Linked DNA regions of Homo sapiens: all the other regions are linked to region 1. The links are contacts of gene promoters, found by promoter capture Hi-C in blood cells and fetal thymus (Javierre and others, 2016). All regions are on one chromosome and are shown on one strand. Each heading gives the region's core, a stretch centred on a gene start or on the middle of the fragment in contact. The rest is flanking DNA. Distances are from core to core; before and after follow the strand shown. Region 1 holds the start of PEX2 (peroxisomal biogenesis factor 2). Region 2 holds the start of HEY1 (hes related family bHLH transcription factor with YRPW motif 1). Region 3 has its middle 9.0 kb from the start of GDAP1.

Region 1 (4,540 bases), core at 754-3,253:
ATCAACACTGCCTAGCAAAACTCCCGGGCCTCAGAAAGCTTTTGTTAAATAAATGAATGAAAAATAAATATATCTTTAAAAAACTGGAAACAAAGCTTCCCTGGAACCTCAGCTCACCAGCTCATGGGAAAATTAAGAAGGTATACTGTATCTACAGGTTAAACATTAAAATCTAGAACTTATTTTAAACAATTTCAACAGAATTTTAACTGTTGCATGTTTCCCCGCATTCTTAATGAGATTCATTAAATATGATTCAAGTTTCTTGATATCTTTATTATTTTCATTCGCTACTGTGTGATGTTCACATGACATACATAAGGCTCTATGAACCAGAATTTGCTTTCTGAAAATGTCCTCTATGTCAATCAAGTCTTTGTGTGTATTTTCCCCCGTCCCTCTCAAAAATTAAGTGAAGCACAGCACATCTGTAGGCTACCTGAGAGGTGCAGCGTGGTTGGTTTTCTTCACAGTTGCTAAACGAAAGGCCTACTCTTCTTCAGTGAGATTTTTTTACTCTCTAGAACAGCAGTATCCATAGAAATATAATGGAAGCCACGTAATTTAAAATTTTCCAAAACATTCTCATTTTGACATGTAAGCAATATAAAATTAATGAAATACTTTACATTCTTTTTCTTTTCAGACCACGCTTTAGAAATCTGGTGCATGTTCTACACTTAGAGCAGACCTCAGTTCAGACTAGCCACTTTTCAGGTGGCCAGTGACTACTACACTGGACAGTTGCAGCTCTAGAAAATCCACTCCCAAACCCCTAAGTGAACTACATACTCTATCAATTTGTAGCTTCTACTCTATCTCATTTGTACCATTGTTTCACAATTTGGATAGCATTAGAGTTAATAAATTTTATTTTAGCAACTCTGCTCCATGGGTAGTTTCTGAAATAAAAATACAAGCAAAAAAAAAAAAACTTTCCTAATAACACTGGTTCTACAGTATAAGCTCTCCCTCGAATGTCTAATAGAGCTTTCGTAGAAGTGAGTGTTCCTTGTAGGAACGGTGAGTCGAGACTGGAGGTAAGAACTAAGACGTTCTTAAACCCTACTACGTGCTGGAATCCTGAAGTGCCTGCCATCATTCAAACTTAAGCACTAACTCTCTAGAGAGACACTGCCATTCATACCACAGAACGAGAAGGCAGTGGCGATCCTCAACGGCTACATGTCACTGCCTGGTGAGCACTCTTCCCTCAGACCCCATTCCCAGAAGCTCTGCCTCGATTCCCCAGGGGTAGGCGAGCTGGCTGCCCGAATTCCTAAGCGTTACCGGGGAGATGTGAGGGCCTCCGGGGGCGGGAAACCTCAGGCCAGGCGCGCGCTGGCCCGCTCTACGGGGTCTCTCGGGAGCGCTTTGCAGGGCGGATGACTGACGGGCCAGCTACCTGCCTTCCTGAGCCTGCAGAGATAAACAGCCTATCCTCCCTGTGCACACAGGCCCCGAGGGCGGGCAGGTCTCCAAGCGCAGCACAACTGCCCCAGGCCCGACGCAGCCACCTGCCCGAGGGCTCCCTCCCCACCAGGCCATCCCTCAGCCGGTCCTCCTCCGACAGCGAACAAGGAACCCCGGAGGCGCGGAGGCGTCTCGCCGCCACCCGGCGGCGCCTGCCAGAGGCCCTTCGCGATGTCCGCAAGCAGAGAAAGCCCTGCCCTCCCAAGCCCCGGCTTCCCCTAGGCCCCTCGACACTTGTAGTGTCCTCACTTGCGGCCCCTGACCCGGGGCTGACCGGTTCGTGACTCTCCTGCCAATCAGAGACAGAGTTCTTCCGGCCAACCGGCCAATCACCGCGCGCGGGTGTCCGCTTCGGCTTTTCGGCCCTTCGGCTCTTCGGCTTGTCGGCGTTCGCGGTTGTTTGGCCATCCAGTGCCTTCAGCAGCGCCGCTAAAGCGCAGTTCTCGTTGGTGTAACTTTTTCTTTTTTTTTTCAGCCACTTCCGGCTCCTGCGTCGCTCCGGAAGCCTGCGAGTTCCGGAAGCCTTGGTAATCCAGATTCGGCTAGGAAAAGACAAGCTTTCCAGAGAATGTTTCAGAGAAAGTTACGTGGAGCGTGGGCGTTTCGCAGACTCCTAAGGTCAGTGTCTGCCCTAGAGAGCCGGAGTGCAAACCCGAGGTCTTGTTTTCAGCTGGGAGGTCGTGGAGTTTCACGACCTTGTAATTGTCGCCGTTTGCTTTTTTTTCCCTGTTTATTGGCTTCCTGTCTCCCTGGAAAAGGCAAATCAAAGCTGCTGAATTTTGGGAAAGGCAGTGAAGCAAACCTAAACTCCTAAAGATGTTTTTAGGATCGCGGCATTAAAAATAAACACACACACAGCTGCAGTTGAGCCCCTCTGCATTCCACGTAGTAACTTAAGAGACGAACTTCGAAATCTTTTTCTCTCATTTGGCGGTCGTGAAGATATTTACCTCTTATAAACGGCTTTATAAAGAATTGAGGATCCAAACTTTACTTAATATCTGAAAGTTCATGTAAAGTGTTATATGTAGTACAAAAAATTTGAGTGCTTAGTTTTCTAACACTGTTGAAAGCGCACGTAAATGCAGTTTGGTTTTCTTATGGAGGAAGAGATAATGAAAAGTTTCTGATAAAATTGCTTGCGATAAATTAGTTATATTTCACGTTGACTTTTGATAAGAAATCTGAATGTGAGAATTGTTAACATTTTTTCCTGGGTTCTTAAATTAAAAATCGTTGTTTGTTTATTTATTGAGGTACCATTTTCCAAATTTCCCACATTTAGTGAAAGGGCTTTTGGCAAAATGAGCAAGCTGTTGAACGTTCAAGTCTAACACATTCTGTTAAACTTCCGTGATGCCCCTCGGAAATATTTTATCTTGACGTTTCGGACAATTAAATGATACTTGGGCGCTCACAACACCGCAGCTTGTAGTCTAAACACCTTCCCCTAAAGTGTTACCTTTACTTAATCCTGAACAGAATGAACTTGGGGTGGCTCTTTTAACTTATCTGATCTCACCTATATTATCAATTACTTGTTTCCAGAAAGATTACAGTTGAGTGATCTTGAGCCAGAAAGAGATTTGAAAGAATTATTTACAGAGTCAAAAAAAAAAACCCTTCATATTTTTTTCTTAAAAAAAAAAATAGAAGTAACAGGACATAGAGCGAATACTAGACTAGTAGACTGAAGAGTATTAGACTAAATCAAGACAGTTGGATTCTAGTCCTGACTCTAGTTGCCTTTGTACAATTTTACCTCTTGGCCGTATTCTCCTTATTTTTAGAAACTAGTGTTAGTACTCAAGCTGGGGTTTTAAAACTGTTCCATAGGAGAACTTGTGTAGAAATTTTCTGGAGCCGTGCAGGGAGAGACAAAGCAAGCCCACCCTCAGGTTTATTTTAACAAGAGCAGCCATTTAGGTGTTCCGCTTGAATAACAAGGTTCTTGTTAAGAAGATTAAATTTATGTCTTAAACGAGATGATCTGCCTTTTCTTCTAGCATTAAAATTCTGGTTTTTGGGATAATTATTCATTTGTACTCAATGTACATTTATTACAGTTTTTAAAAATAATATATTCACAGCTAATTTATTTCTAAAAGCTACAAATATGTCCCTATTCTGTTTCAATTTATTTTATCAATACAAATTTGAAATGTTTTTCTTTATGAACAGAATTAGAATTTATTATTCCTTCTTCTCCATATCCTTTTATTTTAGCCATAAAAGTTTTGCTTATATTTGATGCACATAATGATTCTTGCCGTAGGGAGGACAAGTATTTTTCATTTTACATATTTGGTACCTGAACGTTAAAGGTATTAGCAGGCTTGCTCATCATCACACCCATTAAAAGAGCTCAGTCCTAGCCCCATGTTTTTCTCACAACATCAAATAATTGTAAGTTTCTTTCCCTCTTGCACACCATCCACATTCTCAGGTTCCAATAGCACAAGGAAAATGTGTGAATGTACACAATCTTTATTTCTGGCCAGAAGTTCTCTCTTGAATTATTTCATTTTTTCCTCTTTTGATGATCTGAGTTGGACAACCTAGAAGCAAATTGGATGTTCTCTGTACCTCTTTTCTGTGAAGTGATAACAGTTTGTAAATGTTTCATGTTCCTTTTCTATTCCTTTGGAATGTACAAGAAACCTCAGGAGAAAAGCCCTAAATTGCTCCATTTGCCCTGTCTGTAATCCTGCTCTTTTAAACCCAGCCCTGTAGTTTCTTTACATGGAAGTGGAGGCAAAGAAGGGATGTCTAGTGTCCTCTGCCTTTCTCCGTGTGGGATATTAGACTTCTTCCTAACATATTCCCATCTATACAATAAAAATACCTTCTTCTATGTTGCTTCTTACTCAATTTAATATATTTTCTTTTTATCAGACATCTCCCTTATTACTGCCTGTCAATAAGATGAGATAAAATTCCATCCAAGTTATCTTTTCTTTCTTCTTACTAGTAAAACAACCAAGAACTTAAGTGTAATGGTGTTTTGATTATGCCTAACCACTGTCTTTTCATTTTTTTGAGACAGAGTCTTGCTGTGTTGCCCAGG
Region 2 (4,540 bases), core at 1,179-3,678, 2.8 Mb before region 1:
GGTGGCCTGTCACTTTGGGGAAAGAAATGGAAGGTCAGAGGGACTTCTGGAAGGCAGAGGGGAGCAGGTGGGATGGTTTCCTATGCCTGGACCATCAGTTTCTGGGAGGGAAGAGGCAGGAAGTAGTGATGGATGCCCTGGACTGAAGACTGGGAGGGCCAGGAAGGAGCCTTAAAATTTGCACTTCCAGAGAGAAAGTCGGCTGGTGGGATTGACCTCGGACTGACAACTAACAGGCAGCATGCGGTGGAGTTTCAGGAAGCCAGAGGTCTGGGGTGCCAGCAGCAACAAACCCAGGCTGGCTGATGGAAGGGCCCAGCCTAGACAGGGAAGCAGAGGGGCTGCATGGAAAGGCTCAGGGCTGGAGGTGATGTGAAGTGGAATAAGCTTCAGTGGGAGCCAGGAGGTTGTATTTCCCGTTGGGGGCGGTGGTGGAGGGATGGGGGTGCCCAGAGAGGAACTATGGATTAGGCCCAGGCCGGCCACTCAGAGTGCTTGGCATCCAGGATGTGTTAAGATGGCATTGAGGCCGAGCGCGGTGGCTTAGGCCTGTAATCCCAGTACTTTGGGAGGCCAAGGCAGGCGGATCACCTTTGGTCAGGAGTTTGAGACAAGCCTGGCCAACATGGTGAAACCTCGTTTCTACTAAAAATACCAAAAACAATTAGCTGAGCATGGTGGCGCGCGTCTGTAATCCCAGCTTCTGGGGAGGCCGAGGCAGGAGAATTGCTTCAACCCGGGAGGCGGAGGTTGCAGTGAGCCGAGATCGCGCCACTGCACTCCAGCCTGGGCGACAGAGTGAGACACCATCTCAAAAAAAAAATAGCATTGAGATCAATAAGGAAGTCTAGAAACCAGGAAGCTTTTTGCAAAGAGAAAACGCCTTTTGTTATTCTCACCGATGGATATTAAGCTTTCCCTCACAGACAGGACTACAAGCTTCAGAGTGGATCTGAGATGAATGCGAATTGCTGTGTACCTTTGTAAGGGACAGAAGACCGGATTTTCAAATTTAAAACAACCATTCTGTTTCTGGAATCAGAAATCAGTTTCGAGATTTACAACTGTATTTTTTAAAAAATCTGTCTTCTTAGTGGACTCGGGGGGGACTTCACGTGGCACCCAGTACACGCCACGCCAAGCCACCGAAGCCAGAGGTGTGTGTCTGGGGCCAGAGACGTGCATTCCCTCAGCAAGGCCGGCCTCAGACGCAAACGCCAGCACCGCCACCCTGTCGCCCGCTGAGAGGATCTGGCCGCCGGGGGGAGGGGGCGGGGGGGGGGGCAGCGGGGGAACAACAAAAAAATCCCAGCATAATGATTATTCCCAGGGACCGTTGGGTTTTTTTTTCCCCAAGGCGGCCGAAAAAACAAGTGCTCCCCTTCCCCGGAAATGAGATGCACAGGGGTATTCATTCCATTCCGCGGCTGGGAAGCCCCTGCGGAAACGAGTCTGGCTGCATGTGCGGCCTCGGTCCCAGAAATCAAAAAGAGCGTCCCCTGAGCCCACAGCTTGCTCCTCCATGTGACCGGCCCCTGGGCTGGTGGCCACTGTGGACGCGCCCGGCGCCCCCTCTCCCGGCTCCCTGCGGGTTCCGCGGAGCCGCCGGCGCGCAGCCCGGCCAGGTGCACCCGGCACGGCCCCACTAACAGCGCGCGCCTCCAGCCGCCGGGCACTGGCGGCCACGCGGGCGAGATTTACGGTGGCGCTAGGCGGCGGCTTCCGAGGCCGGCCGGCGCCCAGGCTCCGATTACAGGTTCACACTGGGGGCCCGGCCGGCGGCCGCCCAGCCCCCGCCGGCGCGCCCTCGCGCGGCCCGGCTCCCCGCCTGCCCATTCTTCTCCATTCATGCGGACGCCCAGCGCCGCCGCCGCCGCCGCCAGCGCGGCCGCCGCCGTCGCCGTCGCCGGCCGCCCGGATTGGCTGGCGGCCGCGGCGCCGGCACTTTCCCACGGCCCGCGGCGCGTGCGGCTCACCGGAGGCGCTGCAGGCTCGGCCCTGGCGCGCGGCCAGGCCAATCGGGGCGCGCGGGGCGGGGAGGAGCCGCGGCCGCCGGCGGGCTTGTGTCCCGGCCCGGCCTCCCGCGCCTCCCCGCCGCCCGCGCCTCCTCCTTCCCCTGAGTGCAGGCTGGACAGAGCCCCCGCGGAGCCGACGCACCGCCGCCGGGCAGGGGCGGGCGCGGAGGGCGGGGGCGCGGTCCGCTAGAGCCCTCGGCCTCGCTCCCGCCCCTCCCCGGAGCGGCTGCCAATCAGCGGCGCGAGAAACCGGATTGGCCGGGGGGCGGCTGTTGCCCTGGAGTTGCCGCCCCGCCTCTCCGCCCCCTCGCCCGCCTTCCCCACTCCCCCGCCCTCCCCAGGGCCCTGGGAAGGGGCTCAGCGTGGGAAAGGATGGTTGAGTTTTAACCAGAGGCAAAGCGTGAGCGGGATCAGTGTGTGCGGAACGCAAGCAGCCGAGAGCGGAGAGGCGCCGCTGTAGTTAACTCCTCCCTGCCCGCCGCGCCGACCCTCCCCAGGAACCCCCAGGGAGCCAGCATGAAGCGAGCTCACCCCGAGTACAGCTCCTCGGACAGCGAGCTGGACGAGACCATCGAGGTGGAGAAGGAGAGTGCGGACGAGAATGGGTGAGCTGGCGGCGGCGGAGCGGAGCCGAGCCAGAGCGGGAGGCGAGCGCAGGCCTGCCGCGGTGACAGCGGGCTAGGACCCTTGGCGCGCCGGTGCCCTGCGCTGACCTCCGCGCGTCGCAGGCTGGCGGCAGCCTGCGGCCAGGGAACCCCTAGGTGCCTTCCAGCCCAAGTGGCAAAAAAAGTCTGAGTGCGGGGAGGGTGTGGGGGCGACCTCTCAGATCACCTCTCCTCGTTTAACGGCGATTTCAGTTTTTGTTTGTTCTTTTTCTCTTTTCAGAAACTTGAGTTCGGCTCTAGGTTCCATGTCCCCAACTACATCTTCCCAGATTTTGGCCAGAAAAAGACGGAGAGGAGTGAGTCTCTTTACACTCTCCTTTTATTTTTGTTATTGATTAACGGAAATAACCACCTTTTTTTTTGTCTTTGAAATTTACAGTCGTAATGGTAATGCCTTCCTTTGTTTTGCTTGCCTTCTGCAGATAATTGAGAAGCGCCGACGAGACCGGATCAATAACAGTTTGTCTGAGCTGAGAAGGCTGGTACCCAGTGCTTTTGAGAAGCAGGTAATGGAGCAAGTAGGTAAAGCTCTCAGCATAGCTATCTGCACCTTCTGAATCTTCCCCTCATTAATCTCATCCGCCTTGGAAAATAGCTGTGTTGCTTGTGCCTAGATGAATTCGTACACAGATACCAGCGTATTTTGTGAAGACAACTGATTTTGCTTTAGTCCATGCTTTACGATTTACAAAGCATGTATCTTTGTATATATGTTTGCATATTTTAAATTGTTCCCCAAAGGAACTTGTGCCAAATCAATCTTTTGCCATTCTCATCTTTAGGGATCTGCTAAGCTAGAAAAAGCCGAGATCCTGCAGATGACCGTGGATCACCTGAAAATGCTGCATACGGCAGGAGGGAAAGGTACATCTCCTAGACCTAGTGGGGGCTCTGAATGGTTGGCAAAGAGTGAGCAGCGGCTGAAGGCCAGGATTGGTGCAGTAGCTGCCTGATTTTTCTTTGGGGGTGGGGAGAGAACGGTGTGTGGTGTGTGCAGTTCCCTGTCAGTACATTTTCGAATGCACATAGAATCTTCTCCAGTGAATTCACCACCCCAGCTCTCTGCGGATTGAGCTAGTGCATCTTTTGGAAAAATACCTATTATTTGTGAGGTCTTCAAAAGTTGTGACAGCCCTGATTCAGATCAGGTAGCTTTCACATTTGTCCATTGCTATTTTGAGAAAAAGCATTTAAAAACAATATGTGGTCTTATTTTTGGTATACGGGATTTTAAAAAAAAGGTGCTGCCACATGCCTCTTGAGGAAAGAAATGTATTCTGGTTAAGTAAAGGAAACCTAACGGGAGACCAAGGTCTGTGTGTATGTCTCTCCAGCAGGAAAATGCTTTACTGAGGTCCAAGTGCCTAAAAGCTCCGCGATGATAACTTACATCTGTGTGTCTAATGAATTTCACTGCTCTGTGGTTTCTCTGCCCTTGATGTATTTTTTGTTGTTGTTGAGGGAAAACATTAAAGGAATGAACATAGTTTCATCTGCTGGTAGGGTATAATTCCAATTTCTGCTCTGCAGCTTCTAATTGGGCTTTGAACTTGCATTAGCAAACACATTCTGCTTATGTTGATTAATGCAAAGATTTTTGTTGATTCCAAAGACTTTCGGAAGAACCCCTGACTGTTGTGTTTTAAGGGATGCAGGTATCTGCCAGGAAGGGCTGTCTCTGGGACTTAAGAAATGAGGGAAACGGGCAAAGCCCTGAGATTTTTCTTTTGTTCTTTTGCTTAGGTTACTTTGACGCGCACGCCCTTGCTATGGACTATCGGAGTTTGGGATTTCGGGAATGCCTGGCAGAAGTTGCGCGTTATCTGAGCATCATTGAAGGACTAGATGCCTCTGACCCGC
Region 3 (4,540 bases), core at 674-3,173, 2.7 Mb after region 1:
TTTTCTCATGCAGGTAAAATTTACAAACTATCAATTTAGTGTATAATTGATGAACCGTCTCAATTCTCAATCCCTAGTTTTCCCTCATCTGTAAAATTTTCAGAGCAGAATAGTGAGAGTCTAAAAGAAAAGGATAAATAACTTGAAACAACCTCCACAAAACGATCTGGTAAAAACCTCATGGTGTCAAGCCACCAGTTAGAGGCCCCAGGTTCATGGTGCTAAGATTCCACCACCTTCCCCTCAAAAACCATAGATTACCCTCTGAGGGCTTCTAAGCAAAAGCCTCAACAACCTTAGAACAGCCCAGACTTGATTTTGAAACTCTAAAATGTTTTCTTTCAATGCATCCCAGAACAAATAATCATATTTAATAACAAGTGCAACTCATTAAGTCAGGACACCTTTGCTTTGAGGTTACTGTAGACTTATAATAGTTTAATATTCTAGTTTCCCAAAGAATGGCTAATAATGTTAATGATGCACTAAGTTCTTTTAATAGGAAATTCACTTTAAGTGAAAATTCACTTTTCTTGTGAAAAATATTTGACATATCTATCTATGCTCTTTCATCCATCTCTTCTGTGATGAACGGTGTACATATTCAGAATAAGTATATGAATATAGACCAATCAAAGATGCATTTGCACCACGTGGTTGCTAATATTTCTTAGAGTGTTTTCTGTGTGCCAGGAAATGTTTTAAGGGCTTTATATGTATATTGTACTTAACACTTGCAAAATCCCTTAAAGCAGGGAGAAATCCTCATCCCTGTTTTACTGATGAGGATACTGAGGAACAAAAATTTTCCCAAACTCACACTGTTCATGTCAAAATTGGGACTTAAACCCAACAGTCTGGTCCAGAGATTGTGTTCTTACCACTACACGATCTGGCCTTACTGTATGAGGCACAATCACAGTCATCAGTTTGATTTCACTAGTCCTACATATAAATATCACCTATTCCTTAAGTCACTAATTATTTTACCTTAGGAAATTTTTGCCCAAGATTGTTTTGAGTTCATAGAAAAAAACTGGGAGAAACAGAGTAGAGAGAATATCCTGCTAAAAGTAAACCAACACTTATTACAAATTTGTCCCAACATTGCTTTAATAATATCTAATTTCCTTCTAAAAGCTTACAAAGTGCCTTTGTAAACAGTACTCATTTGATTTTTCCAACAACCCTTCCAGTAGAAATAAGAAATTAGCACTGAGGTGTGAAGTTCACTACCTCACTAATAATCAGTAGAGCTGGAACTAAAACCCAGCGCTTCTAGCTGCAAACTCACTGTATGCTCTAATCATTTCCCACAGCCTCGGTGTGGCCTACCACTTGCCTCAGCTTGTATGCAGAACCAACTCTAGAGCCCTCTCTTTACCTATTGGCAACACAGCCTGACTTCAGTTCAGTTTCTTGGCTTTTGGACACATTGATTCGGTCATGGAATCTTCCCAGTGTATGAGGGCAATGGCTTCACCATGTAATTTCTCCACTGTAACATAGCATTACCCTTCACTCCAGAATATGGAGTTGTAGTTAAGAGCTCAAAATCTAAAGCCAGAACTGGATTCAAATCTGGCTTCACTGCTCACTAGCTATGTGATCATGGGCACGGCTTCCTCATCTATAATCCAGGTAAAGTAATTACACCACCTTTATTGGGATATTTTGAGGATTCATTGTGATTTTTAACATGTTAACTAACACAATTTTAGCACATGGCACATAAGAAGTATAATAGATAATAATGATAGAATGGTAAAAATAACTGACTTTTTGAATACTCTGGGTAAATGTCAGCTAATAATGTGTTCTCCAGTGTATCCTGCCAGATTGGCTGCACTCTGTAACTTCATTTTTGGCAATTCTCTCTAATGGTTTACAATGAATTTTAGGTATTTATACTTCAAAAATACATGTGAAATAATCACCACTAGCTGGAAATTACAGTTGATGAAAGAAATAACAAATAATAAAAATTCTTAAATACTACTCATATTTCCACAGATTCTTTTCTTGACTTCATGCTAAGCCTGTTGAAAATCATTAAAAGAACATCTCAATGGTTATATTAATATTCTGCAAAAATCACTTATAGTATGAAAGTAAGAAAAATCTAGGAGAAAAAAAGGAGGCACTTCCCACTGTCATCCAATATTTGAATAAAACTAATAGTATCACAAACATTTGTCTTATTAAGAATAATTAAGAGTTATATTTATAAATGCAACTATAAAAGCCTGTAGGATATTTTAGACACAATCTTAGAAACGCACACTGCACAGAGGATACTTAATGCTTAGGTTTGAAATTGCAGCTTTTAATTAGTTATATTTCCTAAAGTTAAGTGCTTTCTTACTAATTTAAAATGTGTTTCTGTACATTTTAACTATCCTCTCAGTGGAGAGTGCCTTTTTCTTGCTATTTCCCAGTAAATGATTCAAGTAGTCTTCCTGGACATCTTATTTTATCATTCTCTTTTCATATTTAAAGGAATCTTTCCAGAGACTTAAGATCATTTGGAATATAGCTTTGTCATTCAAATTAGAGTATTTAAGAATACACTGGAATTTATTTTTCAAACATCCTTGCTGTTGTGTTCTTTTCGTCACTAAATAATACACAGAAAAGTTAATTTATGTCTGCATTGTCTCTGGCTACGTGAGAAACACGGCATAAAAACTCAGAGACATAAGCTTTAAAGAAAGAAAATGCTAATGTTGCAAAGGTTTCTCTAAGTAAGATTTTGCTTTGTAACTGTATAAATAGGGCAAGTTAAAGTTCTGGGCAGCAGCAGACAATGAGCAGCAATAATCATTTATGTTTCTTTGGCACCAGCTTCAACACACTGGTATGATTTTTTTTTTCTTAACCACCCGTTACCAAGGACAGTGACAGCACAAATATGAGAATGATTACAGTACTATAAAAACATACTTCACTTACCTTGTTTGTCTTAATAAGATCCTAAAGAAGCATAAGATAACAGTGACAATAGAATATAGTGCTGAATTTTACAGAGACACCAAAGTGTAAAACAACATTGGCTTTCACTTAAGTACTATATTTTTCAAATAAAAGTAATATTGCAATCCATAAAGAAAAGATCAATTTAAATCCTCAGTATGTAATTGAAACAAATGAAAGCACGGAGTTGAGTCTGTGGTTACTAAAGTTCCATGAGAGAAAGGGGTGATGTGGCCAAAGTGAACCTGCTTCCAGGGATTCCCTGCGGGGACAGGTTGGAAAAGTCGGTGAACCACAAAGATGGCAGAGCGGAAAAGCTTCACTTTATGAAACTGCATCATTTTGGAGCAGGGAAGTTTAACAGAAAAAAGGGAAACTGGTCAAATTCAGGTGATGCCTTGGTTTCCAAAGCACATATGAAGAATCAGCTACATATGTTAGCTTGAAAACTATTCAGCCTAAGAGACTCCTGCTGTATGCAAGTTATGAAAATGCATAAGCCCCATCCTACCAGTTTCAAGTGGCAAAAGAAGATGGTAAAAACACAACTCCCCAGAGATATGGACATTTAGTATATGAAATTGGAATATATATGAAAATAGAGAGATGAAGTTGAGGCATCTAGAGCCTTAATGGCTAAAATCCAGTGGCTTGGTCTGGAAGGGAAGCCTTGATGAGTTTTGAAGGGAGATATTCCTTCCTGTTAGACTTCCCAGAGCAAAGGTGCTGATTCTGTGCAAAGAAGTCACTGAAATCTGATGGGCCCTCTTTAAATAACTGATGATCAATGAGAGCCCTCTTTTTTACCTTCCTGATTACATCTGGGCCTTCACGGCTGTGGCAGCTGCAGACAACAGCAAGTTCTCAGGCAGACATGCAGGGAAGTTCTCAGCTCCGCTCTCAAGAGCCCTGAGCCAGTTGTCCTGAAAGCTGATTTAGAATGTCCTCCCCTGTGGCCAAGAGGGTGCCAAGCCCCTTCTAGCTCTGAGTTGGGGTCTAGACCCTATGCCCTGTTTCTTTCTGTGCTAAGTCACAGCTCTGAAATCAGCACCAACTTTTGTACACGTTGCTTCCAAAGCCCTGAGCCACCCCTCATAGCAGTGGGCCTGCTGGGTGCCGTAAATGTGATCCTGTCTGTCGTTTTAGCCTCAGCAGAAGAGCGACATGACCATATTTATTGCTGTTGCTATTCTGGGGGGTGGATGACGTTTTTCTCCCCTTGTGGCTGAGCCCTGCCTGTTCATCTTTCACCACTCCCTCCAAGTCTACAAGACTAAAACCAGTGATACAAATAGATTCTATCAGGAGGAAAGTTAAAATGAGAAGTTCTTAGGCATTTCCAAATCTATCTGCTGTATGTCATCAAAAGCTTCAAAATCTGTTGGCCTACATTTTAAACGTGTACTGTTAGCATCCCACTAGTACCATAAACAGCTATTGGTGGTAACCTTGTTAAGGAAAGAAAAGATGGATAAAGGGTGGGGGCGGGGGGAGCGGGGGGTGAAAAAAACAGTTTGACTGATAAGCACAGCTTAGAAATTTGGCAAATATTGGCTTTTTCACTGCG

Evidence for each region. Contacts are between HindIII fragments. The CHiCAGO score rates a contact against its expected background, and 5 or more counts as called.
Region 2: the fragment with the promoter of HEY1 here is called in contact with the fragment with the promoter of PEX2 in region 1 in 1 of 17 cell types (non-activated CD4 T cells); the score reaches 11.5 in non-activated CD4 T cells.
Region 3: a fragment that was not itself captured here is called in contact with the fragment with the promoter of PEX2 in region 1 in 1 of 17 cell types (total B cells); the score reaches 5.3 in total B cells.

Annotation. Positions count from the first base shown.
Region 1 is chr8:76,997,541-77,002,080 of GRCh38, reverse strand. It overlaps PEX2 (peroxisomal biogenesis factor 2), which reads left to right and starts at 2,003. Exons shown (of 4, transcript NM_000318.3): 1 at 2,003-2,091. RefSeq lists an enhancer at 1,714-2,008. The HindIII fragment of the contact is 1,935 bases long and covers 98-2,032 here.
Region 2 is chr8:79,765,655-79,770,194 of GRCh38, reverse strand. HEY1 (hes related family bHLH transcription factor with YRPW motif 1) reads left to right here and starts at 2,428. Exons shown (of 5, transcript NM_012258.4): 1 at 2,428-2,620; 2 at 2,901-2,976; 3 at 3,103-3,186; 4 at 3,463-3,544; 5 at 4,424-4,540. The coding sequence starts at 2,532. LINC01607 (long intergenic non-protein coding RNA 1607) reads right to left here and starts at 2,053. Exons shown (of 4, transcript NR_125410.1): 1 at 1,977-2,053. It overlaps LOC101927040 (a long non-coding RNA gene), which reads left to right. Exons shown (of 6, transcript NR_110954.1): 6 at 1-823. RefSeq lists silencers at 1,256-1,425, 1,526-1,885, 1,926-2,405 and enhancers at 2,856-2,905, 4,492-4,540. The HindIII fragment of the contact is 6,216 bases long and covers 942-4,540 here.
Region 3 is chr8:74,339,128-74,343,667 of GRCh38, reverse strand. No RefSeq gene overlaps it. Among named protein-coding and RNA genes, the nearest start is that of GDAP1, 9.0 kb to the left of the region's middle. The HindIII fragment of the contact is 1,562 bases long and covers 1,143-2,704 here.